Regions from separate parts of the Homo sapiens genome. Here all the other regions are linked to region 3. The links are contacts of gene promoters, found by promoter capture Hi-C in blood cells and fetal thymus (Javierre and others, 2016). All regions are on one chromosome and are shown on one strand. The core of a region is centred on a gene start or on the middle of the fragment in contact, and the rest is flanking DNA. Distances in the headings are between cores, read along the strand shown.

What was found. The method cuts DNA at HindIII sites, captures the fragments that hold promoters and counts their contacts. A CHiCAGO score of 5 or more calls a contact.
Region 1: a contact is called between a fragment that was not itself captured here and the fragment with the promoter of PCDHA5 in region 3, in 9 of 17 cell types (M0 macrophages, erythroblasts, monocytes and 6 more). The highest score is 9.3, in M0 macrophages.
Region 2: the fragment with the promoter of PCDHB6 here is called in contact with the fragment with the promoter of PCDHA5 in region 3 in 5 of 17 cell types (M1 macrophages, M2 macrophages, erythroblasts and 2 more); the score reaches 10.3 in M1 macrophages.
Region 4: a fragment that was not itself captured here is called in contact with the fragment with the promoter of PCDHA5 in region 3 in 7 of 17 cell types (fetal thymus, M0 macrophages, M2 macrophages and 4 more); the score reaches 10.1 in fetal thymus.
Region 5: a contact is called between a fragment that was not itself captured here and the fragment with the promoter of PCDHA5 in region 3, in 4 of 17 cell types (M2 macrophages, M1 macrophages, erythroblasts and 1 more). The highest score is 13.1, in M2 macrophages.
Region 6: a fragment that was not itself captured here is called in contact with the fragment with the promoter of PCDHA5 in region 3 in 5 of 17 cell types (M2 macrophages, erythroblasts, M1 macrophages and 2 more); the score reaches 7.0 in M2 macrophages.
Region 7: a fragment that was not itself captured here is called in contact with the fragment with the promoter of PCDHA5 in region 3 in 4 of 17 cell types (M1 macrophages, M0 macrophages, M2 macrophages and 1 more); the score reaches 7.6 in M1 macrophages.

Annotation. Positions count from the first base shown.
Region 1 is chr5:141,266,426-141,269,175 of GRCh38, reverse strand. It overlaps LOC105378199 (a long non-coding RNA gene), which reads left to right and starts at 418. Exons shown (of 2, transcript XR_001742473.1): 1 at 418-707. The HindIII fragment of the contact is 184 bases long and covers 1,256-1,439 here.
Region 2 is chr5:141,148,662-141,151,448 of GRCh38, reverse strand. It overlaps PCDHB6 (protocadherin beta 6), which reads right to left and starts at 1,392. Exons shown (of 1, transcript NM_018939.4): 1 at 1-1,392. The coding sequence starts at 1,191. It also overlaps PCDHB@. The HindIII fragment of the contact is 6,099 bases long and covers 1-2,787 here.
Region 3 is chr5:140,820,326-140,823,098 of GRCh38, reverse strand. It overlaps PCDHA5 (protocadherin alpha 5), which reads right to left and starts at 1,486. Exons shown (of 4, transcript NM_018908.3): 1 at 1-1,486. The coding sequence starts at 1,323. All of the region lies in intron 1 of PCDHA1 (protocadherin alpha 1), which reads right to left. The region is part of intron 1 of PCDHA2 (protocadherin alpha 2); the gene reads right to left. The region is part of intron 1 of PCDHA3 (protocadherin alpha 3); the gene reads right to left. It also overlaps PCDHA4 and PCDHA@. The HindIII fragment of the contact is 13,774 bases long and covers 1-2,773 here.
Region 4 is chr5:141,249,069-141,251,768 of GRCh38, reverse strand. PCDHB15 (protocadherin beta 15) reads right to left here. Exons shown (of 1, transcript NM_018935.4): 1 at 2,404-2,700. It also overlaps PCDHB@. Among named protein-coding and RNA genes, the nearest start is that of PCDHB15, 5.0 kb to the right of the region's middle. The HindIII fragment of the contact is 3,908 bases long and covers 1-2,700 here.
Region 5 is chr5:141,314,305-141,317,004 of GRCh38, reverse strand. No RefSeq gene overlaps it. Among named protein-coding and RNA genes, the nearest start is that of TAF7, 5.1 kb to the left of the region's middle. The HindIII fragment of the contact is 2,150 bases long and covers 224-2,373 here.
Region 6 is chr5:141,204,998-141,207,697 of GRCh38, reverse strand. It overlaps PCDHB@. Among named protein-coding and RNA genes, the nearest start is that of PCDHB12, 2.4 kb to the left of the region's middle. The HindIII fragment of the contact is 2,869 bases long and covers 1-2,700 here.
Region 7 is chr5:141,287,855-141,290,554 of GRCh38, reverse strand. No RefSeq gene overlaps it. Among named protein-coding and RNA genes, the nearest start is that of SLC25A2, 15 kb to the left of the region's middle. The HindIII fragment of the contact is 1,340 bases long and covers 730-2,069 here.

The sequences.
Region 1 (2,750 bases), core at 98-2,597, 450 kb before region 3:
ACTTATCTCCTCTTCTGCCATACATACGTCTTACGAAGGCATCTAGGGCACATGTTACTTGCTATTGAAGAGGTACAATCAGCATGATCCCATTAGCGTGCTGGAAAAATGTGATGTCCTATGGGATGGTGAGATAATTAGAACCTTGTATGACTCTCAGAGGAGCAGGAGCACCCCTAACATTTGTGATACCTAGGGCAAGAATAAAAATAGAGATTTATTTTCCCAGCTACTCGGGAGGCTGAGGCAGGAGAATGGCGTGAACCCGGGAGGCGGAGCTTGCAGTGAGCCGAGATAGCGCCATTGCAGTCCGGCCTGGGCGAAACGAAAGAGCCAGACTCCGTCTCAAAAAAAAAAAAGAAAAAAGAAAAAAAAATAGAGATTTATTTTCCTGAGTCTTTGTTTTTTTTTTTTGTTTTTGTTTTTTTTTCCTCTACACTATTGAAACTGTGCCCCAAAGAGTTAAAGAAACCAGTAACTAACAGAAATTCTTGAGTTTTCATAATGGCAGATAAGAAACAACTTGCTGAAACACTGAGACTCCCTCTGCTTAAAAGAAATGAACTGGCTGAAATCGGTTGTAACCTAGATAGATAAATGGAGTTTGCACAGAATGAGCTTGCTGAGATCGCAGCCTGAGTTTCCACCACAGGTTTCATACTAACTCCCCCGAATTCGCACAAAGACCCTTGCGGAGGCATGAAGAGGTAAGTGCACATGCCCAAGGACTTCCCATGCCTCCCCTTTCCTTCCGCTAATCACCGCTCTCAGAATCTGCCCCCTAAATCTTTTCTTTTTCTTTTCTTCCTTTGTTTCTTTTTTTTTTTTTTTTTTTGAGACGGAGTCTTACTCAATCGCCCAGGCTGGAGTGCCGTGGTGTGATCTCCGCCCATTGCAACCTCCACCTCCCGGGTTCAAGTGATTCTCCTGCCTCAGCCTCCTGAGTAGCTGGGATTACAGGCGCACGCCACCACGCCTGGCTAATTTTTGTATTTTTAGTAGAGGCAGGGTTTCACCATGTTGGCCAGGCTGGTCTCAAACTCCTAACCTTAGGTAATCCACCCGCCTCGGCCTCCCAAAGTGTTGGGATTACAGGCGTGAGCCACCACGCCCAGCCCCGTAAAGCATTTCTAACAAAATTACTGCCTGAAAGCCAGCATGGGAAGACACTTGACGTTTACTCCTGTCTCCTTGGGAATCCATTTTCTTTCCTTTGTGTGTTTGTTGCTATAACAAAGACTTTCAATATAAAGCTTTTCTTTTCTCAAAAATGCAGTGTCATATTATTGGCTTCTAGCATATCAGGTAGTGAGTCCCTTTTGCTGGATAACATTATCCTAAGGCATTATTAGCATCTTAATTTCCTTTGTTAAATTGTGGCTGTCATTGAATTGAGTCAGCTGACCAAAAGAACTATTAGAGATAATCATGTGAAAGCTTGAACACTGAATTCAGAATCTCTGGCAAACGAACCCACCTAAATTCAACTCAATCTAAAGGTTTTTTCTTTGTTTTCTGTTATAGCATACTCAGTTCTCAAACATATTCCTAAGGTTTCTGTGATGTAGTTAGCAAAATTATGCAATTCTTTCAGTATATATGCCTTCTAATATTGGGACTGGCTTTGTGCTTGTCCCCATTGAACATGCTAGGATATGAATCTAATTAGAGGTCTAGAGGCAATGAGAGTTGGCAAATGAAGGGCATGGAGAAAATTAGCAACCCTTTGCAATGTAACTGTCTCAGCTGAGGTCATTACAGACTATGCATGCAAAGAGGACAGTCTTATTAAAAAGGAAAATGAGTTTGCTTCTGCTGGGATAAAAAAGGGCTCAATTGGTTTGGGGATTCAAGATACAATCACATCTGAATTCACCTAGCTGTCCCCATTCCCATTCTAAGGATACTACTCTTTCTGGATCAATGCTCTAGCAATTTCATTAAAAAACATGCAGTGGTTGTGAATTCAACTTTGTAATTATTTATCAACCTGAAGAATCAGACTTTTTGTCTGATTTTTATCTATGTAGTCCTGTAGCCGTGGGATAAAAGAGATGTTTTTAAAGCAATCATTAAAATATTTGATTTTCATATCTTTCCTGACCCAAGAATTTTAAAACCCTAAGTTCGTTATTTTCTTTAATTGAATTCTCGATTGCAGTCAAAAGTAATCACCACATCCCCTGAACCTTTCTCTTCCCCACCATAATGCTTTGGTACACCAGCCACTTTGCTTACCAGAGAATTACCTTCAATAAGCAATTAATTCCAGACAAACACAAGTGATAACCTGAGTAAATGTTTTGCTGTTGCTTACCAGGGACTACCAATATCTTATTTTCTAGAGGATATGGGACTATCATTGCCTTTGATCTATCTAGGTCATATAATCTATCCTAAATTTCATTCTTCGGTGTTTGTTGCCTGCAAATTCTGGTACAAAATATATTTTTGGGGCTCAGGGCACATAACAAAAACAACTCTAATCAGTTTAAGCAGAAAAATATTTAACAGAGATAATTAGATTTTTATAGCATCATTGGAATGTGTGGATAAGTGGAACTCAGGAACTATTGAGTTCCAAGAACAACTTGCTACACCTGTGACCCAGGGTTAGTAGGCCACTTCTACTGTTGCTACCACCTCTCAATACCCACACAGTTGCTCCTAGATACAGGAACACTCAATCTGGCTGTTGCTCCTGGTGACACTGGAATGCTGAACCTTCCTTCCACAGCTACTTCTCAACC
Region 2 (2,787 bases), core at 143-2,642, 330 kb before region 3:
ATTCTCCACGGAAGGTCTTAGTAGAAAGGGGAGATTGTTCTCTATTGAACAAATAACCTGTTGGTTATGTCCAGAGTCTGCATCTGAAACACTGAAAACTGCCACTGTGATCTCTGGTAAGTTTTCTGGGATGAGGCTGATGAAGAACGACATGGTGAGTTCAGGGGCATTGTCATTCACGTCCAGGACCCTGACGACTAAAGAGCATTTTCCTGATAGGCCTCCACCATCTGTAGCCTCAACATCCACGTCATAAGACTGAATTTCCTCAAAATCCAAAGCCTTTCTCAGCCGAATTTCTCCTGTGATTGCGTTTATTTCGAAGGGTTGGTTGACGTCATCGACTTGAAACAGGGCGTAAGATACCTTCCCAAACGATCCTGCATCTAAATCTCTGGCTGAGACGGTAATAACCAGAGAGCCGAGGGGGTTGTTCTCAGGGACTTGTGCTTCATAGAGCTCCTGAGCAAACTCGGGGACGTTGTCATTGATGTCCAAAACCTGGATCTGAATCTCGGAGGTCCCTGACCGGGGCGGAGACCCGCCATCCAGCGCGATCAGCGTTAGCCTGAGTTGGGGCTGCTCCTCGCGGTCCAACGGTTTGTCTAGCACCAGCTCCGGGAACTTCCTGCCTTCGCTGCGATTGCGGGTGAGAACGTGGAAGTGAGGGTTGGAGCTGATTGTGTACCTCTGAAGGCCGTTGCTGCCGGTGTCTAAATCGTGTGCCATTTTCAAAGGAAATATCTTTCCTGGCATAGTAATTTCTGATATTTTCAGGAGCATTTCTCTGGCAGGGAATTCCGGGGCGTGGTCATTTATATCTCTGACTCGCAAGGAAGCCTGAAAAAACTGCAAGGGGTTTTCCAGTAACACTTGGAAAGGTAGCACACACGGCTCAGTGGAGCCACACAGCTCCTCCCGGTCCAGTTTTTCATTTAGCAGTAAATCATGGGTCTGTGGATCAAACTGCAAATGTTGTCTGTTCCCTTTGAAAACAACCCGAGCGCCCCGCGAAGCCAGCTCCCCCACCCTCAGTCCCAGGTCCTTTGTCAAGTTGGCCACAAACGTGCCACTTTCTGTCTCCTCCAATACGGAATACTGAATCGATTCAGAACCCACCTCTCCCCAAAGCATCAATAAAATGAAGAAAGCCACTTGCCTTTTCTTGTTCTGTACTTTAGTTTGCATCATGTCTATTATGTCTGAATACGGAAGAAAAATCCTTTTCAGCTCCCAATCACCACATCTACCGTCGACCCTCTCGGATGTCTTTGCAGAGATTTTTAAATTCGTTCTTACAACTTGTCTGGCGACGACTGCCTTCCCGGACACATCTATCTCAGCTTTAGCTGTAAACGTGGTCTGTATTTTTACTTGGCTTCTGGATGAAACGGAGTCCACCGAGTCTGCAGAGCTTTCATTCACTCTCTTAGCTTGTACCGCCACCACGCGTTCAAACTAATAACTTCATGAGATGTTTTCAGGTCAATAGCATTTCAGAAATCTGAGCATTATAAAGACTTTTAAGTCGAGTCAGTGTTTCTCAAACTGAGTGCGTGGACCGCATGCATAAATAATTGCTTGCGAGCGTTGGTTTTTTTGTGTGTATGTTTTTGTTTTTAAGCCAATTCCTGGGTTCACTCCCCTCTAGAACTTGAATCAAATTCCCTGGTGGTGCTAATTAAGGAGAAAGATTGAAGTGCAGATTCTACACTTCAGTCTTTCTCCTTTGATGCTTCAGCAGTGCAATTTATCTCTGATGAACTATTTAATCTATTAGTCCAAGAGGTACACTATTTAATTGTCCCAACAAACAATGCAAAACAACGAAGTTTGTTAGCAACAATAATGGTAAAATAAACAATAAATTATCTAAATTATATGACTCATAAATGGCATGAAAAAAAAAACCTACTTTGTTATATAGTTATGCCTGCACAGTAAAAAGAACAATTAGGCTATTAGGAGGAAAACTGAGGCCAAGAAGTACGTATGATACATGTATCTAAGTAAATTAAAGTATTTAAAAGAGGGACTAGAAGCAATCAAGTAGTTGTCATAAGCATTTTAGGATTCTACTCCATTTTTGCATGGATAGAATTAGACATTGTTTTAACAGTCTTGTGCATTTTATTTTTTGATCAAATTCCCCTCTTACATTATTTAATCAAGGTCCAAATATATTACCGTGTTGTACAAACATGATGCAACACAGAAAACAAACATTCAAGAATCACCTTCACCGTCTTCTCACAGCAAAAAGAACACCAAGTCCAATAAATACAGGCCAAATTAAGGTACTGTTAAAACAGGTGAGTTACATTTGAGTGAATGCCATGGAATTCAATGATGGAATATTATGGCTATATCCATTCCCATCTCACTAGTTTCTACTCAGATACATTGGAACATGTATCTCTAAACAAACTGAAAATGTGTGAAATAGATTAGTGCACATAGAAGAGGTAAAATATGCCAAACAATTCAATTCATTTCAGATTAATTTCATATTTATTGAGAGGTGAAATCAATTGAGTTCAAACAAAGTTCACTTCAGGTAAGGGCCAAGGTGATAGAAGATTAAAAATCAAGATATTTTCAAATACATAAATGCTAGGCAAAACAAATAAGGCTAAATAAAATCTAAACTCTGAATAGCTGAGATGATCTTGTAGTTCAAAATCACCTCTATGTAGCCAGAAAAACAAAAGATTATGAATGTGACCAGCCTCCAGGGTTCACTTGATAGATGCTACTGGGAACACACTGTTCCTTGAGAATGTAACA
Region 3 (2,773 bases), core at 237-2,736:
AGACACGCTGGCGGTGGCCCACAGCGAAGGCGAGCCCCCGTCCCGCGCGGTCACCACCAGCTCATAGACCGACACGCTCTCGCGGTCCAGGGCGCTGTCCAGCACCAACGAGTAGTAATTCTTGAAGGTGGACACCAGCTTGAAGGGAACGTGGGGCATTAGGGAGCAGGTCACCTGCCCGTTGGCACCTGAGTCACGGTCAGACACGCTGATCAGAGCAATGACCGTGCTGAGTGGAGCGTCCTCTTTGACAGGCAGGAAAAGGGTGGTTATGGCCATCTCTGGGGTATTATCATTCACATCCAGGAGTTTCACTACTACTTTACAGTGTCCTGATAATGGGAATGTACTTTTATCCATGGCATCAATATTAATTTCATATGAGTTATAGTCTTCATAATCCAGTTCCCCGTTAACTTTTATTTCACCAGTATTAGAATTAATTATAAATTTGGACTTTACATCGTCAAGAACAAGATTACTAAAGAAATACACTATTTCCTTATTGATGCCCTCATCTGCATCTGAGGCGTTCAGTTTAATAACTAATGTCCCACTTGGTGCATTTTCCAACAATCTGACATTATAAATGGATTTATCAAATTCTGGGGCGTTATCATTAGCATCCAATACATTGATCAACAACTGAACTGTACCTGTTAGTTCGGGTTTTCCTCCATCAGTTGCAATCACTAATAAACGGTGTTCTTGTGTTTCTTCTCTATCTAAGGATTTCCTCAAAACCAGCTCTAAAAAGTTCGTTTCTTCTTCATTTGTTTTAACATCTAAGTCAAAATATTCGTTTGGATTTAACCTGTATCTCAATTGTGCATTTGCTCCAATATCCAAATCCGACGCGCCCTCTAGCGGAAACCGCGAATCTGGCATTCTTGACTCTAAAATGAATAATCTTTGTTCTTGTCTGGAGAACCTGGGCGGATTGTCATTGATGTCCTTCACTGCCACCTCCACATGGAAAACCTGCAGCGGCCTGTCCACGATCACCTCCAGGTGGATGCTGCACTCCGCCCTCCGCCGGCACAGCTCCTCCCGGTCGATCCGAGAATTCACAAACAAAATGCCATTCTGCAGATTTACCTCCAGAAGGTCCCCGCGGCCCTTGGACGCCACCCGGAACAGGCGCGGCACCAGCTCCGCCAGCTCCAGCCCTAGGTCCTGCGCGATGCGGCCAACGAAGGTTCCGTGTTTGGCTTCCTCCGGGATCGAGTAGTGGAGCTGGCCGCTCCCTGCCTTCCAGTAGGCAAGGAGAAGCCAGAGCAGCAGGAGCCGGGATCCCAGACTTCCTCTCCGGGAATATACCATCTCAATCTCGTTCCAATTATGAGCTTTCTATTGCATCACCACACAATGTATTTTGTAAATTCAATTCCCAATTAACTATATATTTTTTATATTATCGCCTTTCTGAGCTTCTTGGCACAGCCAAAAATGGAAGGTTCTTTTCCTTTCTGTCTAAGGAAAATCTACTCACTGTATTCCTTTGAGGCTGGGAAGGGAGAAAAACCTTCCGGTGTCCAGCGACATCATGTGGATGAAAGGGTAAGTGTTTTATTTTGTTTTGCTTTATTTAGCTTATATTCGTCAATATTTCTCAAGTATTCTCACTTTCAATGACATGATTCTTATTCTTTAAATCACTTATCTCTAGTCAAAATATATCATTAAACTCTATCTTAAAATGCGTCAATATAAGTGCGTCATTAAAATATTACAGAAAAATACATCTAAAGTCATGAAACCCCAATCCTTACTAGAGAAATTTGTGCTGGTGTATTTTATATAGGGAGGAGTTTATATATTTCCAAACTGATAAAAATAACTTTTAAGAGTTAAAGTTTTGACTTTTCTCATCTCTATTTAAACATATCTAATTAAAACTTTTGAGTTTTTTCTGTATTAGTCAATGGAATGTTTGTATGCTATCTCCGTGTTACTCATAAAACAAATTTTTATTCCAATTTCACTGTTTAATAGTGACATTTTGTTGATGTTATTTTCAAAAACAACTAAAACTATTTTAATGGCATTCTTACCTGAGTTTCTTCTCGGAGTTCTAATTTTCAAATCGATGAAAACCTATTTCTTTATCTATAACACCTATCTACTTTTTGTATTGACTCAAAAACTGTAATGGGGATATTTCAGCTTTCTAGAAATCAAAAGCATAATAGAACGACTTTGGTAAATCGTCTTTGCACTATTTTCAAATTAGAAGCATCTAGATAGCATTTCTTCAAGTTGCTATTACTGATAAAGCAATTATTAAAAATTGTAAAATACATACCTTTGTACTTACATAACAAGTCAAAATCCTAATATTGTCTATATGACATACTATTTCACAAAATGTTTAGGTTCCAGTAAATATAATCATGTTGAAAAGAATATCATTTTATTAACCAGGCTATCTTTATATTAGTTTAATTACTTTTTAATCTCCCAACTGTTTACTGGATGGTATGATTTGAACACGACCTAGAAAATTTAGTAAACTTCACTTAATAAATATGGGCAAAAGAAAATATCACCAAGTTTTCTATTGAAGAAATAGCTAACATTCTGCTTGTATATATACTCCATAAAATTCCTTAAATATTACAAAATATCCCTTACCTGTGAAGACAAGAGGGACCAAGAGATTAGCAATTCTATTGTTGGATACTTTTACATTTAAAATATAGCTTGATAAGAAAAAAGAAATTACCAGAAAATGCAAAGTCAGAGGAAATTCACTTGATTTCTGGAATTCAAA
Region 4 (2,700 bases), core at 175-2,674, 430 kb before region 3:
TTTATGTTGATGAGAGTCTCTATTCTGCTAGTTTCCAAAAAACTTATTTCACTGTCCTTAATTTTTTTATTCACTAAGAAACAATGAATTGTCACTCATGTTCAAAATTGTTCTAGGTGCTATGCATGACATAGAGGAGAATTGGAACTTATCCTTCAAATAGCCATAATCCACAAAAACACATGGACTGCTGATCTGCTTATGAATATTTTCAGGATCCATATTTAGTCAATTTTACTAAGTAAAATTTTTAGCCTTGCTACTTATTGCCTGTGATGGGGGCAGGGTATTCTGGATTGCTGCATAAACATCTTAGTCATCTTGCTCAGGATACCGTTAAGTCCAGATGTAAAAGCGTGCCTCGCATTTATCCGTTCACTTTCTGATTCTGTTCTCCAAAGTCAGCTTTTGAAGATGCTACTAGCCAGGAATATTTCTTGAAAATTCAGTTATTTGCATATGTTTGCCAGTTGTGAGATGATTGAATGATGGCATAAATTTAATTGCAGTAGTTCAGAGTACTGTCCCTTGATAACACCCCAGGGAAAACAATATGACTGATTCAAGACAGGCAAGGCCCCAAATTAGGGCTTATCCCAGGAGGCCTTTTGGCTTTACACATAAAAGAATTCAAGGGCAATCAGGTGTTATTAGACAGCAATCTTTTATTAAAAGGGACTGCTCCTTGCTGAGCAGGACTAACTATTTTGCAGTGCACCCAGAGTTGGCAGTAGCAGCTTATGGGTTGTTGGCAACTGTATTTATACTCACTTATACCTATTTTCACTTACATGCAAATTAAGAGGTGAGTTAATGCAAATTGAGGAGCTGGTTATTCAGAACTTTCTAGAAAAAGGGACAGTAACTTCCAGGTTGTTGCCATGGAAAAGGGCAGTAACTTCTGGGTTGCCATGACATTTGTAAATTGTCATGGGGCTGGTGGGAATCTCTTATGCTAATGAGCAGTAAGGGCAATTAGAGGTTGCCTTCAACACCAGCTGCTACTTCCTGCAGGGTTTTTCACTTCAGTTGTGCACCACCTGCTGGTTCCTGTCAATTTCTTCATTTTGTCCTGTTCTGATAGGGGAATAAGTCCTGCTGATCTCCTACCTCATTACTTCTCTGACAAATGCCTCATACATTTTAAGTAGACAACTTGGAACCTAGTCTGGCAACTGTGTAAAAAAGTAAAAGTAAAAAAAAAAAAATCACCTGCACCAATGAATGTGGCAATACATCCAGGGAAACTCCTGCTTTCAAGGCTTGGGACTAATCCTCTGTGTTTTGAGAGCTGTACTCTCTGGACTTCAGGCTCCATCCTCTGATGCATCCTTCCTTTTTCATTGGAATTGGCACATGTTTTTAGCTAAGCAGTTTTATCAGTCTATTTCTAGCTTACAGAGTTTGGGGAGGGGGGTACCACATCCTCCTTTAATTAGTTCTCTCTATCCCTTTCAATTCAAGCTGGCAGTGTTTCTGCTGATTAAACATTCTCAATAACCTTATTTCCTGTGCATTTCACAGGGATTCAATTTATTAAACAAGAGACTCCTTCGAAGTTATTTCCTGAGTAATTATGTCTATATTCCTGGCTTCTGCTGATGTGGCTGAAGATATCCATGTCATGTACCTAGTCTCTTCAAAGAGCCTTCTGTATGATTGACTACCTGATTCTTTCAACGCACTAGTAAAAGGTTGTCCTGATATGTCTGTGGCTTTCTCTCCAAAACATGCATCCTTAGCAGTGAATCTCCTGATCTTAACATCTGTTGCAGTCTGAATAGGGTGAGAATTTCCCCAACCATCAAGTCTGGGTTCCTTTTTGCTTCACAGTTCTTCTCTCAATCTAATTCCTCTCATTCTTTTCCCTCTCACATTTTACTATAAGCAGCAAGAAAAAAACAGGCTGTACATTTAACCCTTTGCCTGAAAATCTCAGTGAAATCTCCCAAGTTCATTGCTTAAAAATTCTTTCTACATAACTACAGGACACAATTCAGCTAATTTTTCTTCCACCATATAAAAGGATTCCCTTTTCTTCAGTTTCCAATAATATTTTCCTCATTTCTGCACCCTCACCAGCAGAGACTTTAACATCCATATTTCTACTCACAATCTATTTAAAGTGATGTGGTATTCTCTAAGGCAACATGTTTCTCCAACATGCTCCTCACTTCATTCTGAGTCCTTACTAGCAGATTTGTTAACACCATATTTCTGCTAACACTCTGTCCAAAGCAAGCGAGGCTTTTTCTGTCATGCCTGTCAAAGTTCTTCCAGCCTCTGCCCACTGTCCAATTCAGAAGCCATCTGCACATTTTAAGTGTTTATTACAGTAGCACCCCACTTCCAGGTATCAAAATCTGTGTTAGTTGGAGTTCAGCCAGAGAAACAGGCAGCAGATGTGTAGTAATCAATTTATTGCAAGGAAGTGACTTACTCAGTTTTGAAACGTGGCTGGACAAGTCCAAAATCTGTACAGCAGGCAGTTAGGAGGGGCAGGCTGGAATTCTGGGGCATAAGCTGAAGCTGCTGTCCTTAAACAAAATTTATTTTCATCTCACGGAAGACTCAACTCTGCTTTTATGGCCTTTCCACTGATTGAAATAGACCCACCCAGATTATCTAGGAGAGTCTCCCTATTTTAAGTTTAGCTGATTGGCAACCTTAATTCTGTTTGAACCTTAATTTCTTTGCAAT
Region 5 (2,700 bases), core at 49-2,548, 490 kb before region 3:
TCCTGCCTCAGCCTCTGGAGTAGCTGGGACTACAGGCATGTGCCACCAAGCCCAGCTAATTTTTGTAATTTTAGTAGAGACGGGGTTTCACCATGTTGGCCAGGATGGTCTTGATCTCTTGACCTTGTGATCCACCCGCCTCGGCCTCCCAAAGTGCTGGGATTACAGGCGTGGGCCACCGTGCCTGGCCGTGACTAGGATTTTAGCACAGAATATGTAAGCTTAAGCAAGGTTTCCCTCAATATCTAGGTTTTATATTATTTCTTGAGGTTTCCAAATAATATATATTAAACAACAACAAAAAAACAGTTTAGGATGCTAGGTGACAAAATTTACTGTTTTTGTAATCTAGGTATTTTGCTACACTTAGAAGATTGACACCTGAAAAGCTCCCACCATATCTGGCTTTACAGTGGATCATTTATCAAGTAGTTTATTCTTACCAAGGTCTCAACACCAATGGTGGCAGTTCCATCAATAACAGAAAGGAAAGATTCTGGATACAATAACAAAATAGTATATTGATCTCACTATTCCTGTTTCAGTTATGAGTTCTAAGTGGATTCTAAAATCCACGTTTCCAACCTTGATTCTTCTGTGCTTCAGGTTTAGTTTAGCCAGATGTGTACTAGAAACATACTTGAAAGTATCTCTCAGGCAACTCAAGTGTAAATGTTCAAAATGGCCGGGTGCAGTGGCTCATGCCTATATCTCAACACCTTGGGAGGCTGAGGCAGGTGGATCACCTGAGGTCAGGAGTTCAAGACCAGCCTGGCCAACATGGCAAAACCCATCTCTATTAAAAATACAAAACAAATTAGCTGGGCATGGTGGTGGGCACCTGTAATCCCAGCTACTTGGGAGGGTGAGGTGGGAGAATAGCTTGAACCTGGGAGGTGGATGTTGCAGTGAGCCGAGATCATGCTACTGTGCTCCAGCCTGGGCAACAGAACAAAACTCCATCTCAAAAAAAAAAATACAGGTTCAAAATGGAACTTTTCCTCTTCCTTGAAAATTTGCTTTTCCTTCTGGGTTCCAGTAAAAATAAATGGCACCACCACACATCCCAACTGTGGAAGCTGGACACTAGAGCCATAACTTTACATTTCTCCCTTTCCCTTGCTACTTTTGATTTTACTTAAGAAGTTCTTCACTCACTCTACTTCATCCTTACAGCCACTGTCCTATTTCAAGCCATTATTATTATCTATCAAATGGCAATAGCTTCTTTACCATCCAATTTAGTTTTCACTGCCACCAAACTCATTTTTCTGAGACATATTTGATTGTGTTACTACCATGCTGAAAACCCTTCAGTGACATCTCATTGCTCTCAGGGCTAGGTTTGTATTTCTCAAAAAGATGCACAAGATTATGAGTTCTCCATTTACCTTTTCAGCCTCAGCTCCGCATTCAGTATATGGTCAGTCCACTCTGAACTTACATTTTTTTCAAGGAGCTTACTCATTCTCCCACTCCTGGGCCATAGATCCTTTTAACAAGCAGTTCACTCCACCTAGATGACTTTACCCTTTGTCTGAGTCCTACTTAACCCTCAGGTCTCAACCTAAGTGACTTCAGCAAGGCTTTTCTGACCCTTTTCTCCCTCTAGGTTAAGCAACCCTATTACGGCTTTGCACTTTGTTCTTCCCTCTCTCATTTATTTGACAAACATTTTGTGTGTGTGTGTGCCAAACTACAAGGGGTGTGTGTGTGTGTGTGTGTGTGTGTGCGCGCGCACCAAACTACAAGCTACTGGATATGCAGTGATGAACAAAGCATTTAGTGTCTATAAACTCATGCACTGCACGGTCTACTGGGATGAGTATCTGTTATAACTAAAGTGTAAATTACCTTTGTTCGTATCTCCTGCTTGGCTTTAAATTTACTGAGATATTTTGCTACATTAGTGACTGTAAACTTACTGAAGAATAGTAGAAAGATCAAAATCTTAACATCAAGACATGTCATGCATGGTTCGTATCCTAGCTCAGTTACCTATTAGTTGTGTGACCTTGCACAGGTAGCAATCTGTTTACCTCAATTTTCTCATCTCCAAAGTGGAGGCAATAATACTACCTACCTCATAGGGTTATTGGGCTGTTGGCTGCTGGCTGCTGAATCATATAAATGACTTATTTAGAACAATGCCTGGAACATAGTAAGTAAACAACAGAAGTAAATTTACCACTATTACAACCCATTAAGGTATGGACCATAACAGATACTAAATAATTAAAGAGTGACTGAAATGTTAGAAAAAGTGTTTATAGGGAAACAACTATTCTAAATGTAATTGTTTTCAAATTTAAGAAATTTTAGAGATCAGTTTCAACCAAATTCAGATGGGAAAAAAAATTCTAAATGAAAGCTTATAAATTAGGTTACAGCAGAAACGGTTTGCTTCAAATTTATCTGCAGCATAAACAAATTTACTCAGCTCTTTCCTCCTACAGTTTAGCACTTACAGTTCTCTTTTCTTGGAATAGTCACCAGATATTCTCATGGATAGCTTTTTGTCACTGAAGGCCCAACTCAACCCTTATTTTCTCTGGTAACCCTATCTGGCCATTCAATCTAATTCTTAAGAAGCATGTGATTTAGATGTTTCATCATGTCAGGTGCTATGTCAAGTGCAGTGGTCTTCATTAAAAAGTTGGAAGGTTCTTTGCTACTATTTTCTAATATATGTGTTCTGGA
Region 6 (2,700 bases), core at 181-2,680, 380 kb before region 3:
AGGTTTCAGTCCTAGCCAAAGTACCTCATTGGTACAAAATGAGGGAGACTGTTTGCAACAGATGCTAAGGGCTCATCAGTGATATTCACTATAGAAAGTCTTAAAGTGCACTAAGAATGGATGGGAGAAGAATCCAACAAGTCTGCATTTTAAAATGTTAAATTCAATTAATATTCTTAAAAATGTAAGCTGGATACATGGTTGAAATAGTAATTGGTACAGAAGGGTAAAACTTGAAAAGTAGATGAATTGAGCACACACAATTAACCTCTCTTTTTAAAAAAAAATATGCACTAAAATGGCAGAAAAGTAATTAAAATGGTAGGAACTAACAAAGATTAAGAATACACAAGTGAACACATACATTTTTCTATGACAGAAAGCAGGTGGAAGAGCAATTAACTTAGCAGTTCCAAAAAGTGCCCCTAAAGTAAAGTTCCTGCATTGAAGATACTCACAAGAAACATAATCTCTTTTAAGCGCAAGATCTGGAGGAACCAGATGTTTAAGAAGACTGAAGTCAGTTAAGGATGGAAAAAAGTTATTAGTTGGAAGTATGTGTAGAGGATAATTGAATTCTCTGTTCTTCTCATCACCCTACATAGATGGAAACATAACTCACAGCCAGAAAATAGAAAGTTTATTCTCTGGAGAAATTTAATGGGACTTTCTCTAGTCTTGGGGATCTAGGCACAGCTGAGCACAAGTGTGAGGTGTCAAACTGAAAATAGGGAGAGTAAGCAAACCTTTGCATTTTGCATGGTGAGACTTCTAATCCCTTTTCATGCAATACTCTTAGACTGTAGGACACAAAGTGTATGCCTGACCCCTAGTCTATCCCCATAGTGTATATTGTAGAATTCTAACCTGGAGAATATGAAAGCCCAAATGAAGACACATATTAATATTTGGCATCTCATAAGGTAATAGACTTATCCTAGCATGGTTATATTAGAATGAAGCCCTGCCATCAACAGGTACTGTTCGCTCACAGAGTTGATTGTCAGCATTTTGATATATCATCCTTCTAAAATACGAGAAGATAGCCAAGGCATTTGAGGAAATGCCTGCAACATAACATAGAAAGACCAAAACTACCACCATCGCTACCATCAAGAAAAAAAAAAGGAACAATAATATAGAAAGCAGAAGAAAGCCTTTGAAAATGTCTGGTTAATATTCCCAGAGAAAGAAAATCTAATAAAAGCTAATACTTATTTAGTATTTACTCTATGCTACTCATTGTTCTAAGTGCCTCATAATGCATTTATCCATTTAATCTAAATAGTAGCTGTATGAAGTATGTATTTATCCACTTAATCTAAATAGTAACTATATGAAGTACATATTCCTATTGTAAGATGAAGACTAGATTAGGACTTCAGTGCTTTTTACTAGCTATATTACCTTGGACAAGTTCTTAACTCCCCTTAGACTCACTTTCACTTTTAAAATGGATATATAATAATGATACTGCCTAATGCATTTTTAAAGAAAAGATTAATTATAAATGAGAGAAAATATTACATTTATAAATCTATGACAGGATGCCATGAAAAACATTCAGAGAACCAAAAACAACTCTTAAAAGTAAATATTTTTCAGTCATAAAGAAAAACTTATACATAAAACATTGAGTGATTAAATAAATTGTCCAAAAAATGGAATGAGAGGCAAAGAGAAAATAAGAAAGGAAAAATGGCTTATAGTCTTATAGAGTCAATCTAGGAGGTCTAATATTTAACTGAGATTTTCATTGAAGTGAGAATCCAGAAAACTCAGAGGAGAAATTATGAGTAAAACATACCAAGGAAATTCCTTTTAACAAATTGTTTTTGTGTAGAGATAGGTTCCCACTATGTTGCCCAGGGTGGTCTCAAACTCGGGGCCTCAAATAATCCTGCCTCAGCTTCCCAAAGTACTGGGATTGCAGGTGTGAGTCACCATGCCCAACCAAAATTTCTCAGAAATAAAATTGATAGTCTGAACATTAGCCAAGGGGTCTAGCACATGCCTGTAGTCCCAGCAACTTGGAAGGCTGAGGCAGAAGTAGCTCTCGAGTTAGAGCTTGCAGGGTGCTGTGATTGTGCCTGTGAATAGCCACTGCACTCCAGCCTGGGTAACACAGTGAGACATCATCTTAAAAAAAAAAGAAAAGTTAAACATGAACAGGGCATAGCGATATAACCAGATTAATCAATAAAGAGCCAGTACTAAGGTATTTTCAGAAGACCAGGGGAATTTTTTTCAATGCTCACAGAAAGAAAGAAAAAAAGGGGGGGAATCACATAAAAAGACATAGGAATCAGAATGGAATCAGTCTTCTGAACAGCAATTCTATATGCAGTCAATAAAAGGAGCAGTGCTTTTGAAATCTGAGGGAAAATTATTTTCAACCTAGAATGTTATGCCCAAACTATCAATCAAATAAAAAAAAAGAAAATAACAAAGCAAGCTCTCAAAAAGTTTTATTTCCTCTGTATCCATTTTTATGAAGGTACTGAGAGATGTGCATCAACAAAATAAGTGAGTAAACTAAGAAAGAAGAATGTACTGGATCTTATAAAAAAGGACCAACAAAGAAAAATATTTTTTAAAGTCCTAGGGTGACAGCCTATAGAGCAACCAGTATGAATGAAGTAGAGATCTGGGTGCAAGATCACCAAGAAATAAACATAATTGACAGGTATCTGATATATT
Region 7 (2,700 bases), core at 150-2,649, 470 kb before region 3:
TAATAAGATAGTTGAATGTGTTCTGTTTTCTTATCATGAGAAGATGACTGCTTTTGATTTTATTCCCTGGTGGAATTTAAGACAAGTGCGTTCACCAGAAAAATAGCCACCTACCAAGTTGCCAAAGTTATACTGATCTACTCCAATAAAGATACCACATCTGGCATGACAGCTGCAATTGGAGCTACCATTTGGTTAAGTAAGTATATTGCAGTCCATTGTCATCACAACAATCTATCTAGTTTTTGCAGAGGGTGAACAAATGAATTAAATGAGAATTTGATGAGGACTATCACCTCTGTGCACTTTAAGCCTCAGGAGGTAGTGTTAATCTCTAAAAATCCTCCTAGGATGCAGCATTACTTATGATTTACTATCTTGGCTAGGGAAAGGGACATTTCAGGGTTTCCACTATAATGTGTCTTACTCTCTTATTTGTCAGAGAATAAATACAAAGGTTTGGCGTCAGAGGGTCCCAAGACCCCAGGTTTGGTAATTTTCTAAGACTCACAAAACTCAGCATGTAGTCATACTCGTGGCTATGATTTGTTACAGTAAAGGGATACAAGGCAAACTCAGCTAGGGGAAAAGGTATATCAGATAAAGTCTGGAGGAAACTAGGTATAAACTTCCAAGAATCCTCTCCCATTGGAGTCACACAGAATATGATTAAATCCTCCAGCATCAAATTGCACCAACAGGTGTAAAGTGTTATCTACCAGGCAAGCTTGCCTAAACCTAGGAATCCAGGGTTTTTATTGGGGACTGGTCATGTGGGCCTCTTCTGCCTAGTAGGTAGCAAAATCCCAGATTCCCCGAAGGAAAGCAGGTGTTCAGCATAAGCCACGTTGTTTGTATATACAGTTTAGGCACAGCAAACCACTTTTATCAGTTATGAAATGATGCAGACAATCTCAGAATCCAAGTCCCAAATGCAAGCCAAGGGCCTACCTTGTAAGCAGGGCCTTCGACGGCTTAGTAGTCTCAGGTCTGTTATATTAACTCTTTTCTTCTACCCACTTGGTCATTGTCCAAGGCATTTTTTACAAAAAGATTATTATCAATAGGATCCCACATGGCAGGGTGAGATCAGCCTACATTATTGGCCTCAGTTATGTCCTCCATGGCTTCTAGATTTGGCCAATTAAAACAAATCCTGGGAACAGGCACAGTGGTTCACGCCTGTAATCCCAGCACTTTGGGAGGCCAAGGTGAGTGGATCACCTGAGGTCAGGAGTTCAAGACTAGCCTGACCAACATGGTGAAACCCCGTCTCTACTAAATACAAAAAATTAGCCGGGTGTGGTGGCACATGCCTGTAATCCCGGCTACTCGGGAGGCTGAGGCAGGAGAATTGCTTGAACCCAGGAGGCAGAGGTTGCAGTGAGCCAAGATTGTGCCATTGCACTCCAGCCTGGGCAACAAGAGTGAAACTCTGTCTCAAAAAACAAAACAAAACAAAAAATCCCATTAACCATAAAGGTCTATCTTAGAAAGCCAGGTGTCTTTCTCCTTTAGTTTTTATATTAACCTTTTTTTTTCTTTTAATCTGGCCCAAGGCATCAACTCAGGCACAGCACATCTCTGACCAGTAAGTTAAAGTTAATCCGAATGCCTTGTAGGGCTGAGACAGTGTCATGATAGTCAGGGTACCCACAAAAGAAATATAAGCCCAGAGGGCACACACAGTACCCCTGGAAACAATGAGTTTACAGTTGTTAGGACACCCCAAGCAGGACATACAGTAGTCAGGCAATAAGGTTAAGAAGACCTCTAATGTAACCTTCCACTGTGGGCCCTCCTGCTCCAGGATTCTCAGTGCAGTCCAAATAACACAGGTCAGTCCTTAGATTCATAACGACTGCCTGAGGCAGTCAGTTCCAAACAGTTTTGTTCATGCATAATATCACTTCATCCATCTCATAAGTGTGGGTGACATCTGGAAGTGTTCCTCTGCCGTCTCATAGTCACCTGTGACCATGGGCTCAGCAATCTGTTTGAATTCAGAGTGCTCGCAGCAGCTTGGAAAGCCAGCATGGGGACTTCTCCTTCAAGAAGGGGGTAAAGCTTCCAGGAGCAGTTCTGAAAAACAAAAATCATTAACACCCTAACCTCTCCCTGTGCCTCCCAGGGGCTGGGTGTGGTTTCTCCATTGTTACAAAATCAGTGTGTCCCATTCACAATTATAACTTTATATTTTCAATCATCTCCTACTCACTAGGGCCTTTCATCCAGAAGGGTTATAAGCAAGAGGGAAAAAAGCATTTTCACAGAAAAACATTTTTACACAACTTAAGCAGAAAGACACATCATGGTAAGGAATTGGTCACAATGACCTGAATTTTCTAAGATTTTTCAAATTAAGTTTACACAGACTCTTATCCCTTTAGTCACAATCATTTATCCAGTGGCCAGCCTACCATCCCAGAGAAGAGCAGTTCCTTTTTGGGGACAGCTGCATTTAACAATCAAATTGTCTTAATATTCCAGTAAAAAGGTGAAGGAAGTAGATTCAGGCTGTAAGTCAATTGTTGCAAGTTGCAACCAATCCAGAAATCTAAACACAAATCTACAGCAGTGGGACTTTCTCCAGAGGAGGTCCAGAGTCTGATCTGTCAGGAATGGGGAGAGGGGTTACAGTCACTGTGATGTGCCCAGTCCTAAAGTGCAATTAGGAATGCAACCAGTCTCTGTATATCT